Regions from separate parts of the Homo sapiens genome. Here regions 1, 2, 3, 5 and 6 are each linked to region 4. The links are contacts of gene promoters, found by promoter capture Hi-C in blood cells and fetal thymus (Javierre and others, 2016). All regions are on one chromosome and are shown on one strand. The core of a region is centred on a gene start or on the middle of the fragment in contact, and the rest is flanking DNA. Distances in the headings are between cores, read along the strand shown. Region 1 overlaps BFSP2-AS1 (BFSP2 antisense RNA 1). Region 2 has its middle 27 kb from the start of LINC02004. Region 3 holds the start of AMOTL2 (angiomotin like 2). Region 4 holds the start of C3orf36 (chromosome 3 putative open reading frame 36). Region 5 overlaps RYK (receptor like tyrosine kinase). Region 6 overlaps BFSP2 (beaded filament structural protein 2).

Region 1 (2,700 bases), core at 190-2,689, 440 kb after region 4:
GTTCAAGCAATTCTCCTGCCTCAGCCTCCTGTGTAGCTGGGATGACAGGCGCCTGCCACTACACCTGGCTAATTTTTAGATTTTAAGTAGAGACGGGGTTTTACCATGTTGGCCAGGCTGTTCTCGAACTCCTGACCTTGTGATCCACCAGTCTCGACCTCCCAAAGTGCTGGGATTACAGGCGTGAGCCACCGTGTCTGGCCTTATTTATATTTTTAAAAACAGGATCTCGATCTGTCACCCAGGCTGGAGTGTAATGGCATGATCATGGCTCCCTACAGTCCCCACTTCCTGGGCTCAAGCAATCTCTCCCACCTCAACCTTCCAAGTGATGGCAGTGGCAGCTTATCTGGAGCAGCTGCTGCAAAGACGCTGGCTGCAGTAGGGGAGGCACACCAGGGCTGTGTACTCCAGGAAGCTGGCAAGAGCCGGTGGAAGCTGGCAGGAGCCGGTGGAAGCTGGGAACAGGAGGAAGCCAGGACTCATTCCTGGTTGGAGAGACAGGAGCCCCACCCTCCCAGGTGCAGCTGCAACTGCCCAGCTGCCCTGCAGACCTAGGCATTCCTGCACTCTCGGGGGCCAGGAAGTCCCCCATGGCCCCATAGGCTTGGGAATGCCTGCTCCTGCTGCCTGGCCTCTCTCTGCTCCTGGCACCCACTATGATTGTGGAGCAAAGTGAGGCTGCCCAGCTGTGGCTGCAGACTCGGGCATTCCTGCAGTCTTGGGGGCCAGGGAAGCCCTCACAGGCTTGGAAATGCCTGCTTCTGCTGCCCAGCCTCTCCCCACCCATGGCCGCCCATAGGCCAATCAGCGTGCATTGCTGATCATTCCTCCCCTTTGAAGACCATAAAAACCCTGGACTCAGCCAGACTTCGGCAGACATCAAGATGATCTGCCTGCGGAGAGGAGCTACCCACTGTGGGTCTCCTCTCTGCTGAGAGCTGGACTCTCATCAGGATGACCTGCCTTCAGAGAAGAGCTACCCACTGTGGGTCTCCTCTGAGCTGTTCTGTGGCTCAGTAAAACACCATTTTGCCTTGCTCACCCTCCACTTGCCCGCATACCTCATTCTTCCTGGACGTGGGACTTGGGGTACCAGGGCTGAAAGAGCTGTAACACAAACAGGGCTGAAACACACCCATTGCTCACCACATTGCAGGTGATAAGAAGGAGAAAAGAGAGAAGGAGAGAAGAGCTGTGGCCCTTTGGGGAGCCCAGACCTAGGAGCTCCCCGAACCAGGGCTGTGACACCCTATTTGGGGCTCTGCAGTTACTGGCATCTCCAAGCTTCTGGGCACCACAGCGTTTCCTGATGACAGCTGTAGAAGCTGCTTGCAGTATGCCTGGTCCAGCTGCAGACTCGCAGGGAGCCAGCACCTGTGCCAGCACCTGGAGCTGCCCACCCCACCACAGCCAGTGTGCCTGGCTGTGAGAAGTGGCCAGACCCCACACTTGCTTGCTCACACACCCCTTGCCACTCCATGCCTGGCTCACCCTTGGCTGGAATGGGAATCAGGCCAGTTGCGTGAGCTGAGCACAGCCTGCCAGGCTGAATAGGTGGTATGAGCCCAGCGGGCCTGAGCAAAGCTTGAGCAAAGATGCCACTGACCACAGAGATTTCTGGCCAGAAAAGTGACACCCCATCTATGGGCGTACAACCCTGAAGGGGCCTGATCTTTTTTTTTTTTTTTTTTTTTTTTTTTTTGAGACGGAGTCTCTCTCTGTCGCCTAGGCTGGAGTGCAGTGGCGCGATCTCGGCTCACTGCAAGCTCCGCCTCCCAGGTTCACGCCATTCTCCTGCCTCAGCCTCCCGAGTAGCTGGGACTACAGGCGCTCACCACTGCACCCGGCTAATTTTTTTGTATTTTTAGTAGAGACGGGGTTTCACCGTGTTAGCCAGGATGGTCTCGATCTCCTGACCTCGTGATCCGCCCGCCTCGGCCTCCCAAAGTGCTGGGATTACAGGCGTGAGCCACGGCGCCCGGCCAGGGGCCTGATCTTGTCTGGTCTTGGAAGCTAAGCAGGGTCAGGCCTGGTTAATACTTGGATGGGAGAAAAGCAATGCCCCAAGGATCCTGTGACACACAAGTAGCTGGGATCACAGGTGTGATACACCACATCCAGCTAATTTTTTTAAATTTTATTTTATAGAGATGGGGTCTCCTTATGTTGCCCAGGCTGGTCTCAAACTCCTGTGCTCAAATGATCCTCCTGCCTTAGCCTCCCAAACTGCTGGTATTAAAGGTGTGAGCCACTGTGCCTGGCTGGATGCCCACTTTTAGTATGGTTATTCAACATAACACTGGAAGTCCTGGCCAGAGCAATTAGGCAAGAACATAAACTAAAGGGCATCCAAACTGGAAAGAAATAAATCAAATTGGTCTTGTTCATAGATGACTTGATTTTATACCTAGAAATACCTAAAGGCCCCACCAAAAAACTACTGGAACTGATAAACAAATTCAGCAAAGTTGCAGGATACAAAATTAACACACAAAAATCAGTAGCATTTATATACACCAACAGCAAACAATCTGAAACAGAAATCAAGAAAGCAATCCCATTTACAAGGTACAAAAATATAAAATATCTAGAAATCAGTCTAACAAAGTAAAAGATCTATATAAGGAAGACTATAAAACTCTGAAAAAAATAGGAGAGGACACAAAAAAATGGAAAGATATTCCATGCTAATGGATT
Region 2 (2,700 bases), core at 32-2,531, 360 kb before region 4:
ATCTGGAGCTCGGGTAGAAGGAGTTGAGCAAGAGATACAAATTTGGATGAGGTCACTTATGGAGACAATATAGACAGAAAAATGGAGAGGGCACAGAGCTGAGCTCTGGGGCTAATCAATACTTATAGGTCAGGTAAGAAGGAGAAACCAGCAAATGAGGCTGAGGAGCAGCCATCATTGAGGTAGGAGGAATGCCAGAAGAATTCTAGAAGAACTCTATGAAATGCTGCTGAGAAGTGAGGTAAGCTGAAAAAAGAGAAGTAACCATTAGATATGGTAGCAGGCAGGTCCTTGGTGACTGAGTCATGGTCAGTGCTATGATTGGAACCTGTCCCCCAAAGGCCATGTGTTGGAAACTTGATCCCCAATGGAGCAGTGTTGAGAGGTGGGATTTTTAAGAGGTGATAAAGGTATGAGAGCAAAGTTCTCATGAATGAATGAATTAATGTCATTATCCCAGGAGTGGGCTTGTTGTAAAAGCAGGTTTGGCTCTCTCTCGCCTCTCTCTTGTTCTTGTTCTCACCCTCTGTTCACCCTTTACCTTCCACTGTGGGATGTGCAGCAAGAAGGCCCAGATGCAGGCCCCTGAACCGTGGACTTCCCAGCCTCCAGAACTGTAAAAATAAATCTCTCTTCTTTATAAATTACCCAGTTCATGTATTCTGTTATAGCAACACAAAACAAACTAAGACAGGCAGTGCAATGAGCAGGGGGATGGAAGCCAGATTGGAATGGATTAGCAAATGAATGTGAGAGGCAAGGAAATGAAAACAGTGAATTTGATAATGCATTTGAGAAATTATTCGAGGATGTAGAATAGAGAGATGGCTGGGAAGAATCCACAACCCTCATCTCCCCTATCTACGTACAATATTTTTAATTGAGTCTAGCTGTGGTTCAGGAAGCTGTGAAATTTGTGAAAATTGAGTTCATGAGCACAGGTTACTTTGTGTGAAGACTACAAAGAAGGAAGTAATTTGTCTTACATTTTTCATATTTCAAAAATGTATTATCTTTTAACCAGCTAAACAATTGCAGAGGAGAGCATTAGCTAAAAATGTTAAGTCTAAATTAGGGGTTGAGTTTTTTTGTTTGTTGGCTTTTTTATAATTTTTTTTTTTTTTTTAAACGGAGTCTCGCTCTGTCGCCCAGGCTGGAGTGCAGTGGCGCTATCTCCGCTCACTGCAAGCTCCGCCTCCCAGGTTGACGCCATTGTCCTGCCTCAGCCTCCCGAGTAGCTGGGACTACAGGCGCCCCCCACCACGCCCGGCTAATTTTTTGTATTTTTAGTAGAGACGGGGTTTCACCGTGTTAGCCAGGATAGTCTCGGTTTCCTGACCTCGTGATCCAACCACCTCGGCCTCCCAAAGTGCTGGGATTACAGGCGTTGAGCCACCACGCCTGGCCTATTTTTAATTTTTGTGGGTACAAAATAGGCATATATATTTATGGGGTACATGAAACATTTTGATACAGGATGGAAATATTTCGATATAGGATGGATGGATATTACTCATACAATGAGTTATAATCACACCAGAGTAAATGGGGTATCCATCACCTCAAGCATTTGTCATTTCTTTATGTTACAAACATTCCAATTATACTCTTTTAGTTATTTTTAAATGTACAATAAATTATTGTTGACTGTAGTCACTCTGTTGAGCTATCAAATACTAGATCTTATTCATTCTATCTAACTATATTTTTGTACTCATTAATCATTTCCACTTAGACCAACTTCCCCTCCCCCCACCCCCCCCACTGCCAAAACTGCCCTCCCTGGCCTCTGGTATCCATCATTCTGTTTTCTATCTCCATGAGTTCAATCGTTTTAATTATTAGATCCCACAAATGATTGAGAACAGACAAAGTTCTTCTTTCTGTGTCTAGCTTATTTCACTTAACATAATGTCTTCCAGTTCCATCTATGTTGTTGTAAATGACAGGATCTCATTCTGTTTATGACTGAATAGTACTTCTTTGTATATATGCACAACATTTTCTTTATCCATTTGTTTGCCAATGGGCACTTAGGTTGCTTCCAAATCTTGGCTATTGTGAATAGTGCTACAATAAACATGAGAGTGCAGATATCTCTTTGACATACTGATTTCATTTCCTCTGGGCAAATACCCAGTAGTGGAATTGCTGGATCATGTAGCAGTTTTGCCTTCAGTTTTTTGAGGAAACCCCATTCTGTTCTCCATGGTGGCTGTACTAATTTACATCCCCTCCAACAGTGTACAAGGCTTCCCTTTTCTCCACATCCTCACTAGCATTTGTTATTGCCTATCTTTTGGATAAAAGCCATTTTTACTGGGGTGAGATGATATCTCACTGTAGTTTTGATTTGCATTTCTCTGATGATCAATAATATTAAGCACCTCTTCATATACATGTTTCCCATTTATATGTTTTCTTTTGAGTAATATCTATTCAGATCTTTTGCCCATTTTTGAACTAGATTATTAGATTTTTTTTTATTGAGTTGTTTGGGCTCCTTATATATTCTAGTTTTTAATCTCTTGTCAGATGGATAATTTGCAAATATTTTCTCCCATTTTGTGGGTTGTCTCTTCACCTTGCCAATTGTTTCCTTGGCTGTGGAGAAGCTTTTCAGCTTTATGGGATCCTATTTGTCTATATTTCGCTTTGGTTGCCTGTGCTTTTGGGGTGTTACTTAATAAATCTTTCCCC
Region 3 (2,700 bases), core at 1-2,500, 440 kb before region 4:
CGAGCTTTCTGAAGAAGGGGTTTCCATCTAGCAGTGGAAGTGTCCTGGGGGCAGAGGAGAGGATTCCATGCAGGAGCCACAGAAGTGGGTACAGGGGAAAGCCCCTGGCTGGCAGGGGTGTAGGGGGAGGTAAAGAAGAGACTAAAGCAAGGACAGGGTAAGTGGAGAGAGGAGGGCTCCCAGTGTCTGCCCTGTCCATCTAGGGAGCCTGGATTCTGATAGCCAGGGAGGGGTTTTGAGAATGAGAAACCAAGCAGCCCAGTGGTTGATTACCTGGTTCTCACTGTGTGTGACTCTGGGCACGCTGCTTAAGCTCTCTGAGCCCTGGTGTCCTCATTTACAACACAGGGATGATAACAGAACTCCGTTGGAGGGTGCTTGGCAGGGCTGAATCGGATGACTGGGCGAAAAGCCAGCGGTGGCACACCTTGCACTCTGCGTAAAGGGGCGCCTATTATCACCTTGGGGAAGAACTGGACAGAGCGCCTGGCGGCGGGTGATTCAGTTGGGTAGGTGGGTCAAATTGACCGGATTTTCCAACCCAGATTCACACTTCCTGTCGAGACGGTCGTAAAATAGCTGGCGAAGGTGTTTGTAAACAAAAGTGCATTCAAAGGTTGCCGCTGGGGGTGAAAACAGCGGGGGTTAGGGGAAAGAGGCTCTGTGGCTGGAAGCATTCACTTAGCCCGGGGCACTGTCCCAGCCCAGAGGATATGGATGTCTTTGCAGTCCCTCCTCCCTTTCCCACCTCCCCCGGTACACACACACGCACACACACACACACACACACACACAGCCGGAGTCCCCTCCCGCAGCAACCCCAGGACACGCGTGGTACAGCCCTTGCTGTCGTCCCGTCGATGGGTTTAGGGATGAAGGGTGAGAGCGGGTCGGCGACTGGGAGTGGAGGCGATAATGGGCAGAGTTGGATTAAATTGTCTCCAGCAGCTCCGAAGGCAAAGCATGGGGCAGGGGCGGACACACCGCGGCCTGGAGGGCGCTGGGCGCGGAGGAACGGAGCTCGGGGGCCGGGCCGGCGCTCGGCCAGCAGCGCCGCCTCCCCGGAGGAAGGCGGGGGCCGGGAGGAGGGAGCGGGAGAAGGCGGAGGGCGGAGGAGGGCGGTGCGCTGAGAGGTTATTTGTGGTTCGCTTTGATCCCGAGGGGGAACCTGAAACTCTCACATTCCTGGCATAGCAGCCGCCTCCGGCGCGGGCCGACCCTGGGGCTGCGCGCTGGGGCGCGAACAGCCAGAGCGTCGGCGCCACGGCCGAGAACACATCTTCGCCGCCGAGCTGAGCTGGGCCGAGCCGGAGGTTGTGGTGTCTGACTGCGCTGGGCACCCTCGGGCCGCAGCGGTAAGGAAGGCCGCTCGGCGCTCGGGAGAGCGCGCGAGGCCACAGAAACGTGCCCCAGCCAAAGCTGGAGTCTCGGCGCAACCCGGCCTTTTCCGGGAGTCGGAGCCTCGAGGATCGAGCGTCCTCGGGGCGCAGTGCGCCCTTTCGAGGCAGCCGCAGTGCCTGGCAAGGGCCGCTCTGCCCAGGGAGCGCAGCGCGCTGGGCTTTGCGGGGCTCTAGAAACGCGCGGGTCTCTTGGGGCTGGGGGAGAGGGGAGAGGGCCGACTCCGGAGACAACAGCCACAGTGTTTCGGGTTGCAGGTCGGCGGGGGTGGGGGTGGCGGGGGACAGGGATGGAGGCGCCGCTTGGAGCTCAAGTTGCAGGGTCCTGCGGGCTGATTTGGTTAGGTGGGGGTTACAGGTGCCTTTGCCCCCAACTAGTCCAAGAATTCCTCTTTGTCTTCCTTGGAAAATCCTCTCTGGAGCCACGAATTGGCCCTCACTTAGAAAGAATGCAGCCTGCTGTCCAGCCCGGTGACGTCAGCGTTAGAGTATTTGGAAAACAAAGAGGGCTCGAGAGGGAGGGAGGCGGACCCGCGATGCTTAAAGACCTCTCCGGGCCTCGGGCTACCCTCACCGGCTCGCCCCAGGCGTACCAGCGGCCACCGGTGCTCCAGGTCCGCCCGGGCTCGTGGTGGGGCGGGAGCCCTGGCTGGGGTGCCAGAACCTCCTAGCTTGGAGACTGTCTTTGGTTCCTTAGGCGAGCAGGAGCCCAGGCCAAGGCTGGAGACGCGCGCTGGCTTAGAAAGGCGGCCTTCAGAGAGCGCAGCGGGCGAGTGCAGCAGAGGTTCGCGGCCGGGGGCGCGGAAGCAGGTTTTTGTAAAGGCCCAGGCGTTTGATGTCTGAAAGGACGTGAATCTGAGGGGCTTGGCCGGGACAAATTCGCGATGAGAGGCCTTGGAGATGTTCCTTGCTCCCAGTCCGGGCACACTATGGAGCGCCTGGAATCTGTCAGGAAGGCTCCGCATTCCTTCCTGCCGCTCCCCTGCCTTCTCTGTGGGAGTCGGCCCAGAGAGTGATTATCATAGGAAATGCCCGCAGATAAAACTCCAGGGCGAACTGAATCCCATACGAATTGAATCCCATTTGCTTGCTTTGCCTCGGGTAGCTCTGGAGTCTTGCACATCTACCCCTCGTTGTGTGTGGGGGGCGCATGACTGGGTGCCAGGAAGGATGGGTACAGAGGTGCCCTCCAGACTCATCCCCCACTCCCCAGCTCTGGGCAGCTGGAGTACTGGGGTGGGGAGAGGGAAAAGATCGGGAATGGCTGCTCTGCCAACATGCCATAGCCCAAACTGAAGCAGGA
Region 4 (2,700 bases), core at 111-2,610:
GGCTGAACAAAAAAGCCGGAAAAGGAAGAGTGTGCAGGAACCTTTTTTATTCAATCCTTCTTTTACCCTTCTTGGAAAAAGCGCAAATACAGTGATAACTAAATACCGTATCTCTATCAATTATCCTTTGGCCCAAAGCCCTTTGGGGTGATCCTCCATGATGGATGCCCCATGTAAAGGTGAGGAATCTGATCCCGAGGAAGCAACCATTGTGGCCAATTTCACATAGATAATAGCTGGCCAGGTCTAGACTCAAACCAGGCTGTCCACTTCTCTCTGGTCCAGCCCAATTGCCCCAGCTGAGTCATTCTGAAGAGTCAGCATGGACTAAAATGGTGGGGAGGCCCCTCTTTTCCCACTGATGTTCACTGGCCCATGGGAGGGAAGTGGGGGAATCTCTTGAGGGCCATTAAGGTGGGTAACAAAGGCAAAAGAACCAGGTAACAGTTCATTTACTTACCTTCTATTCAACTAGCAACAACATCACAACTATTCATTAAACAGGGCCAATTTATCCCTATAGCACCATGAGTTAAAGAGAGTTGTGGAGAAAAGAGACAAAGAGGGAAGGGTTTTGAGAAGAAAAGGCCCTGAGAATCCTGCACACAGACCTTCAAGGGAACAGCTCCATCTGGTGACTGCTTAGCAGATTCTTGCTCAAGAAACAAAGCCATATTGTGATTTTATTCAACCACTCTCAAAGATGGAGAGATACAGTTAAGCTGGAGGCTGAAGCCAGTCAGTATCAAATTGATACTAAAATATTATATTGCAGCAAATCCAGAAGAAATACATCCTATCTTTCGCAACCACAGGAAGTAAATACCTGGAAGAAAGGTCCATCTCCTGCCAGTAGCACCAGACACCAGATTCATTATAACCTTTCATCAGAGATTAAATATGGAAACAGATCCTGGAAAAGCCCTTGGCAAATCATAAATGAGAGGAAGTTTTTCTCCATGGCATACCCTGGCCATTCCTCCACTCTCCAGCCACATCATGTCTCCAGCCCTGCTACAACTTGACAGCAATAATAATAACTAAAATGTGCACAGATCTTTACAGTTTACCAAGCCATTAACCCATTTAAAACACTTCTTTAATCAGTAAATCAGTGGGGAAAGGCTTGGCTATGCTGTGGTAACAAACCTCTCGAATCTTAGTCACTTGACACAACAAAAGATGGTATCTCGCTCACAGAACCTGTGGTGATCTGGGTGACTCTCAGGTCAGTGGCTCAGTAGTGCCCCTCTGCCTGCTCAGGGCCTGGAGGATTGGCCTGAGAGCCCCCCCAACCAGTGTCTCAGTAACTCAGACTGTTTGGAACCTGAGGTACCTCCATTTCATTATAAGCTGCCATGATGGATGGGGCAGGGGAAGAAAGTCCTGGAAGATCCCGCACTGCTAAGCAATGCTTTGTCCCAAAGTAACGCTCTTCACTCTGCTCCCAGCCTAGCTGCCGCAAGAGCGGAACAGAATATTCTGTGTGCTCAGGAGAAGAAAAGAGCAGATATGGTTGAGCACTAAAACCCTCTACTGTGGGTAGTGAACCTAGGTGGACACAGTTGCTCACCGGGACACTTAAACCAGCTTTGCGGGGCTGTCGGGGTTGGGAAGCACAGTCTGGAAAGATTTCCCAATGGAGGAAGCACCAATTGTGGGTCCCTGAAGCTGAGGGGATGATGCCCAGGCAAGGCCGAGGCAGTCTGCAGAGGGCTGGGGAGGTGGGAAAGACGATTTTGCTCAGAGGAGGCAGAGATGGGGTGGTGGCTGAGAGAGATGCAGGGTCAAGGAAAGGATGGCTTCAGAGAGGAGAGATTTGCTGGGGCAAAAGGCCACAGGATGGGGAGGCTGCGGGGTCCAAGAGGACAGCTGATGGAGCGAGACCCTGCAGGCAAGGAGGAGATGGGGTGACTCATGGCAGAATCGCACCAGAGTTCCCACAGCCCTGTGCGGCCACTATGACTAGTCCCATCCTGTACATGGAGAAAACGAGGCTCCTTCCAGTTGTCCCTCACGCCTCCCTTGATTTATGTACTACCTGATGTGTATAAGGACAGGTGGTGACAAACACATGGTCCCTACCCTTCAAGGACATATAATCCAGAGCTAAGACAAGACCTTAACACAGGGCAAAGTACTATGCTCTGAGTTCATTTGATGAGCGATGGGAGAACGGGCTTGATCCTAGCCATGCGGGAGAGACTGGAATTCAAGAGAGTCAAATGTGCTGGGAAAGACTTTCTGGGCAAAAGGAATAAGCAAAGGTGTGCAAAGGTAAGGAAGCAGGAAACCTTTGCACATCTTGAGAACTCGCCGGCCAGAGGCCTGTGAAGGAGCGCAGTGGTCAGGCAGGAGAGGCAGTCGGATGCAGGCTGAGACCATCCTGGAGGGTCTTGAGGCTGGCTTACCCCAGGCTGTGAGTAGTGGGCTCAGCCTAGTCCCGGCTCCTGGGTTAGTGCTCACGTGTCTCTCTGCCCCCTCAGGGCCTGGAGGAATGGCCTTAGAGCCCCCACCAACCACGCTCAGGAAGGCATTCCTAGCTCAGAGTACCCTCCTGGAGTCTACACTGGAAGGGGCTCCTGAGTGGGCCGCGCCACACCCCGAGGAGCAGAGGCGCAGTCCTCCCGCGTGCTCCCAGCACACTCCACCCCTACCCAGCACACCCACGGGGCCCCCACCTTGCTCACCTGGGGGGAA
Region 5 (2,700 bases), core at 128-2,627, 310 kb before region 4:
AAAATTATGTCACACTTAAAGGTATACATTTTTGTGCGTTGTTGATGTAAATCAAGTGCAATATTTTCTAATAAAAATTTTATTAAACAGCATTCATTTGTGAAGGTCCTCTTAAAATGTGCCAAAATAAACGTGTGTGTATTGCTCAGTTACATAATAAACAGTTGTTGAATGATTCTTTTTGTGTGTTCAGCAGTGATAATGCTGAGTGGATTTCATAGGTCTCATTCTTATCTTTTTTTTTTTTTTGAGACGGAGTTTTGCTCTTGTCACCCAGGCTGGAGTGTAATGGCATGATCTCGGCTCACTGCAACCTCTGCCTCCTGGGTTCAAGCAATTCTCCTGCCTCAGCCTCCTGAGTAGCTGGGATCACAGGCGTCCACCACCATTCCCAGCTAATTTTTGTATTTTTGGTAGAGATGGGATTTCAGCATGTTGGCCAGTCCAATCTTGAACTCCTGACCTCAGGTGATCCACCCACCTTGGCCTCCTTTCAAAGTGCTGGGATTACAGGCGTGAGCCACCTTGCCCGGCCTCATTCTCATTCTTATATAAATTTTAAGCTGGAATAGACAGCACACAAGTCTCTAGTTAGGGATCACCTGTAATTTAGGGAGGAGGAGGAAGAGCGTATCTTGCTGTATGCCAGGTACTTTACATATGTTCTCTTTTATCAACCATAGGAAGTCGGTGGCATTGACTGTTTTTTGTTTGTTTGTTTTTAAACAGATAAAGCTGAGATGCTGAGGTTGTGGGCAATTAACAGAATTTGCTGTAGGTCACAGAGATGTGTGGGGCTATGTGACTCCAAAGTGCGTGCTTTCTCTACTGTGCTGCCTTTGAAGGTTGACAGTTGACTTAGTCTTTAACCAAAATCATCTGAGAAGCTTTAACAAACTACAGATTCCTTGACCTACCCTGAGCAATTTGTTGAATTGATCTGAGATGGGGCTCAGGTAAATTAACGTTTTGAATGCCATGTTTAATTAATTACAGGAGGTACAGGTTTTCCACATTTGAACGTCTCTGAAATCAGAACCATGTTATAATCAGTGGGGAGAGTCATCAGTTAATAGCTTTTTTCTTTCTTAGTGGCACAAAAAATAAGGATGTACTTTAGATTAAATGAAATATGATATTATAAAAAGGTGATACTGTAAAGGGAACTTAAATACATAGTTTGTCACCTTTCTTTTTTTTTTTTTGAGATAGAGTCTTGCTCTTTCTCTCAGGCTGGAGTACAGTGGTGCAATCTCAGCTCACTGCAGTCTCTGTCTCCCAGCTTCAAGCGATTGTCGTGCCTAAGGCTCCTGAGTAGCTTGGGACTACAGGCGTGCACCACCACGCGTGGCTAATTTTTGTATCTTTTTTTTTTTTTTTTTGGTAGAGATGGCGTTTCACCATGTTGGCCAGACTGGTCTCGAACTCCTGACTTCAAGTGATTTCCCTCCCCCACCAACCCTGTCTGGGCTTCCCAAAGTGCTGGGATTACAGGTGTGAGCCACCATACCAGGCCTCCACCTTTTTTATGTGCATATGCATGTGTTTGTCACAACTTTCAGAATTGTAAAATTCACTGGTGGTATTTATTATTTGCTTACAGCAATAGCTGTGTAGTAATGCCCTTGCAGGGAAATCATAAAATGAATGAGATATTGTCATTAGATTAAGAGCAATAGCAAGGTTACTTTTCAGCCAAGAAGCTGCAGGCAAGGAGAAATGTCAGTGGTTCTCAGCCTTTTTTTGTGAAAGCCTTAGGCCCTTTCCCTAGAAAAAGGCATGAATGTCCACACATACTAAAATTTGTATACTGTGCTAGGACCTCTAGACTTTTGGGGCCTTTGAGGGACTCCTGATGAAAAGCTTAATGGGTACACCTGAGTGTCACAAAAACTGGTATATGTCATATTCTGTTTTACATCCTAAGATCTGACCTCCTACATGAATTTTTTTGAAAATTTGCATATATTAAGATTCACTCTGTTGAAAAGTTATGTAGGTTTCGACAAATGCATAGTGTCCTATATCCACTACAGTATCATAGACAGTAGTTTGCACCTTTAAAAAGTCCCCTGTGAATGGGGCATTTGTATTTATAAATACTCCCTCCCTTATATTTTAAATAAGGTGCTTTAAAAATGTATTTATTATGGAACATTTCAAAAATTCAAAATAAGGCATAATAATATAATGAATCTCTGTATACCCGTCATCCAGCTTCAGCAGTTCTCAACTCATAGCCAATTCTGTTTCATCTCTACCACCTTACCCCTACTCCACTCATTTGCCCTCACTCTCCTTATCCTCTACTTAGATTATTTTGAAGCAAATCTAGACATAATTTCATAAAAATATTCCAATATGTATATCTGAAAGAAATTCTTAAAAAATCTAAAATAACCATTATTGCACATTATTAAGAAATTAAGAATTTATAAATATCAAATATCTAAGCTGTTGAGCTTTTCCTGATTTATAAATATGTAAATGTATATGTAGAGACTCTTCTTGCCTACGACCTGGATCCACTCTTATCCCTGCCCCTCCCTGCACCACTCAGTTCCCTTGGTGCCAGACTCCTTCTCACCCTGGAGTCTACATTAGATGGCACCTCTGCCTTGCGTTCTTTCCCCAAATCTTTACATGGCTGGTACTTTCTAGATCTCAACTTAAAATGTCAATTCCCCAGAGAGGCTCATC
Region 6 (2,700 bases), core at 41-2,540, 490 kb after region 4:
AAGAGAGGATTGGAGGAGGCAGGAGAAGATGCCAAAGAACCAGTCGGGAGGCTCTTGCGGTGGTCCAGGGAGCCCATTTTATTAATGATGGTGGCCTGGACGAACGATGTGATCATAGGGTAGGTGGAAAAATGTGGACTAGTTTAAGATGCATTTGGGGGATAGAACAGTCGGTTCTTTGTGGTGCAGTAGTTATGGGGAGAGTGAGGGAAAACAATTAGGGGTGACCGCTCCGTTTCATCCTGAGCTGTAGAGAGCATGGTGGGGCCTTTGCTGATTCTCTTCCTCCCTCATTGGCTGGTTCCTGCATCTGAGTCACAGCCCACCCCTGTGGCACATTATCCCTCTCTTACCACATTTAGTATAAATACTTTGTAGACAACGACAGTGTTTTCTTATTCTGGAAACTGGCTCCTCCATTCACAAGCATGGGTCAGTTGCTTAGAGTAAGTAATTCTAAGATTTGGTTTCCTCCCCCATAAAATGAAGATAATAATACTCCCTTCCTCCTGGGAGAATTAAATGAGCCAAGGTGTGTGAGACTCAGCGTATGTGTGACTCAGCAGATTGCCTGGCACAGAGTAAATATTGCATGAACGGTAGCCATTATCATCATTGTTATTTGTCTTTGTACAAAGCAGTTGTTCAATGAATGTCGAATGAATTTGATGGGTTTGTGCAGTCTGGCACTGATCCTGCTTTACTTTTCTGAAGTGCACAGGCAGTTGAATGAAGACTTCCATCTAGTGGCTTGATATATATATATGTATATATATACATATATATTTTTTTCCTTTGTTTTTCCTGTCCATAGTCATCTGAAAAGTCCTAGTCATTTGTACCATGATGGTGAGGACTTTATCTCTTTCTATAATACTACTCCTGTTTTCACTGCGGATGTAGTTATTAAAATAAATGAGCTGGTGGTGGTGGATGAGAGATTTGACCATCATTGTGTTAAAGGAAAGGCAAATACAAGCAGCGTTTTAAAAAAGGTTATCATTTGGGCCCAAGGGTACAATGAATGGTTTGTTTGGAGTAAAGATATTGGCATTCTGGCAGCTAGAGCTGCAGGTGTGGGGAGGAGGTGGGTAAGACTGAGCTCCTGGGAAATTAAACTCAGCTGGTGCAGTGGCAAGATGCAAGATTCCCTTGGAAACCCTTCCCACATTTATTTGACTTTCAAGTTTAGGATGGATGTTCAGCATAACTTGCTTCTAGCAATAAAGGAATGAGAAATAATTCTCAGTCCCTAGCACCCCAGTGATACTGCTCTTAATAACAAGGCCACCGTATTACCAAGCCCGGCAGATGCTTCTCTGTGCTCATATTGACCTGCTGGTTGCATTTGTCACAGATGTACTTTTCTGTCTCGGCTTCCATGACACCACTCTCTCTGGACTTCCTCCTACTTCATTGACCATTCTTTCTTATTATTCTCTGCTTCACCAGGTTTTTCTTCCTTATCTGACCTCTAAATGTTAAAGTTTTTCAAGATTGGGTCTTGGTGCTTCTTTTTTTTAATCACTAAATGGTCTGATCTATCCACACAGATTTAAATGGCATTGTATGTGCTAATGACTTTCACATTTAAATGTCTATCTCAGAACTTTCTGCTCAGCTCCACACTTGCATACTCACCCTCTCTTTGAGGTCTTCACTTGGCTATTTCTCAGACATCTCAAACTTAACATGTCCCCGAATGAAAATCTAGATAATTTTGGCCGGGTGCGGTGGCTCACGCCTGGAATCCCAGCACTTTGGGAGGCTGAGGTGGGTGGATTACCTGAGGTCAGTTGTTCCAGACCAGCCTGGCCAACATAGTGAAACCCCTGCCTCTACTAAAAATACAAAAAATTAGCTGGGCGTGGTTGCACGCACCTGTAATTCCAGCTATTTAGGAGGCTGAGGCAGGATCATGGCTTGAACCCAGGAGGCAGAGGTAGCAGTGAGCTGAGATCGCACCACTGCACTCCAGCCTGGGCAACAAGAGTGAAAATCCATTAAAAAAAAAAAAAAGAAAATCTAGATAATTTCCCCACAAATCTTCCCTTTCCCCACCACCCCTTGATCCTCTTCATCTCAGTAAACAACCCCAATGTCTACCCGGAAACCAAGGGATCATCTTGATCTCTCACTTTCTGTCATCTCCCACATCTCATTTATCACTGAGTCTAGTCAATTCTACCCCCACAATGTATCTCAAATCCATTTATTTCTCTCTACCTCTCTTGACATCACCCTAGTGCAAGTCCCCATCATGCTCTCCTATCCCATTATAATATCCCATTGTAATATCCTTCCAACTCCCTGATCTGTACCTCCCTCCTCCAATGCATTCTGCATCCTGCTTCCAGAGTGGGCTTTTTAAACTCTTAAAATCATATCATGTCACTCTGATTAAACTAAATTAAAACTCTTCAGAGGGGCTAGGTGTGGTGGTTCACGCCTATAAGCCCAGCACTTTGGGAGGACAGGGTGGGTGGATTGCTTGAGCCTAGAAGTTTGAGACCAGCCTGGGCAACATAGCAAAACCCTATCTCTCCAAAAAACAAAACAAAACAAAAAAACAGAATTTATCCAGGTGTCATGATGTGCACCCACAGTCCAGCTACTTGGGAGACTGATGTGGGAGGATCTCTTGAGGCCAGGAGGTCGAGGCTGCAGTGAGCTATGATTGCACCACTGCACTCCAGCCTG

Evidence for each region. The method cuts DNA at HindIII sites, captures the fragments that hold promoters and counts their contacts. A CHiCAGO score of 5 or more calls a contact.
Region 1: a contact is called between a fragment that was not itself captured here and the fragment with the promoter of C3orf36 in region 4, in 1 of 17 cell types (activated CD4 T cells). The highest score is 6.9, in activated CD4 T cells.
Region 2: a fragment that was not itself captured here is called in contact with the fragment with the promoter of C3orf36 in region 4 in 2 of 17 cell types (endothelial precursors and megakaryocytes); the score reaches 7.9 in endothelial precursors.
Region 3: a contact is called between the fragment with the promoter of AMOTL2 here and the fragment with the promoter of C3orf36 in region 4, in 1 of 17 cell types (M2 macrophages). The highest score is 5.1, in M2 macrophages.
Region 5: a contact is called between a fragment that was not itself captured here and the fragment with the promoter of C3orf36 in region 4, in 1 of 17 cell types (endothelial precursors). The highest score is 7.6, in endothelial precursors.
Region 6: a contact is called between a fragment that was not itself captured here and the fragment with the promoter of C3orf36 in region 4, in 1 of 17 cell types (endothelial precursors). The highest score is 5.1, in endothelial precursors.

Annotation. Positions count from the first base shown.
Region 1 is chr3:133,485,206-133,487,905 of GRCh38, reverse strand. All of the region lies in intron 1 of BFSP2-AS1 (BFSP2 antisense RNA 1), which reads left to right. Among named protein-coding and RNA genes, the nearest start is that of BFSP2-AS1, 4.6 kb to the left of the region's middle. RefSeq lists an enhancer at 27-527. The HindIII fragment of the contact is 300 bases long and covers 1,290-1,589 here.
Region 2 is chr3:134,285,303-134,288,002 of GRCh38, reverse strand. No RefSeq gene overlaps it. Among named protein-coding and RNA genes, the nearest start is that of LINC02004, 27 kb to the left of the region's middle. The HindIII fragment of the contact is 2,673 bases long and covers 1-2,617 here.
Region 3 is chr3:134,372,997-134,375,696 of GRCh38, reverse strand. AMOTL2 (angiomotin like 2) reads left to right here and starts at 1,250. Exons shown (of 10, transcript NM_016201.4): 1 at 1,250-1,355. RefSeq lists enhancers at 1-390, 391-1,190, 1,191-1,990. The HindIII fragment of the contact is 9,314 bases long and covers 1-2,700 here.
Region 4 is chr3:133,928,472-133,931,171 of GRCh38, reverse strand. It overlaps C3orf36 (chromosome 3 putative open reading frame 36), which reads left to right and starts at 1,360. Exons shown (of 1, transcript NR_161373.1): 1 at 1,360-2,700. The HindIII fragment of the contact is 5,965 bases long and covers 1-2,700 here.
Region 5 is chr3:134,239,855-134,242,554 of GRCh38, reverse strand. All of the region lies in intron 1 of RYK (receptor like tyrosine kinase), which reads left to right. Among named protein-coding and RNA genes, the nearest start is that of RYK, 9.7 kb to the left of the region's middle. The HindIII fragment of the contact is 976 bases long and covers 890-1,865 here.
Region 6 is chr3:133,442,182-133,444,881 of GRCh38, reverse strand. All of the region lies in intron 1 of BFSP2 (beaded filament structural protein 2), which reads right to left. All of the region lies in intron 2 of BFSP2-AS1 (BFSP2 antisense RNA 1), which reads left to right. Among named protein-coding and RNA genes, the nearest start is that of BFSP2, 43 kb to the right of the region's middle. RefSeq lists an enhancer at 2,645-2,700. The HindIII fragment of the contact is 3,562 bases long and covers 1-2,700 here.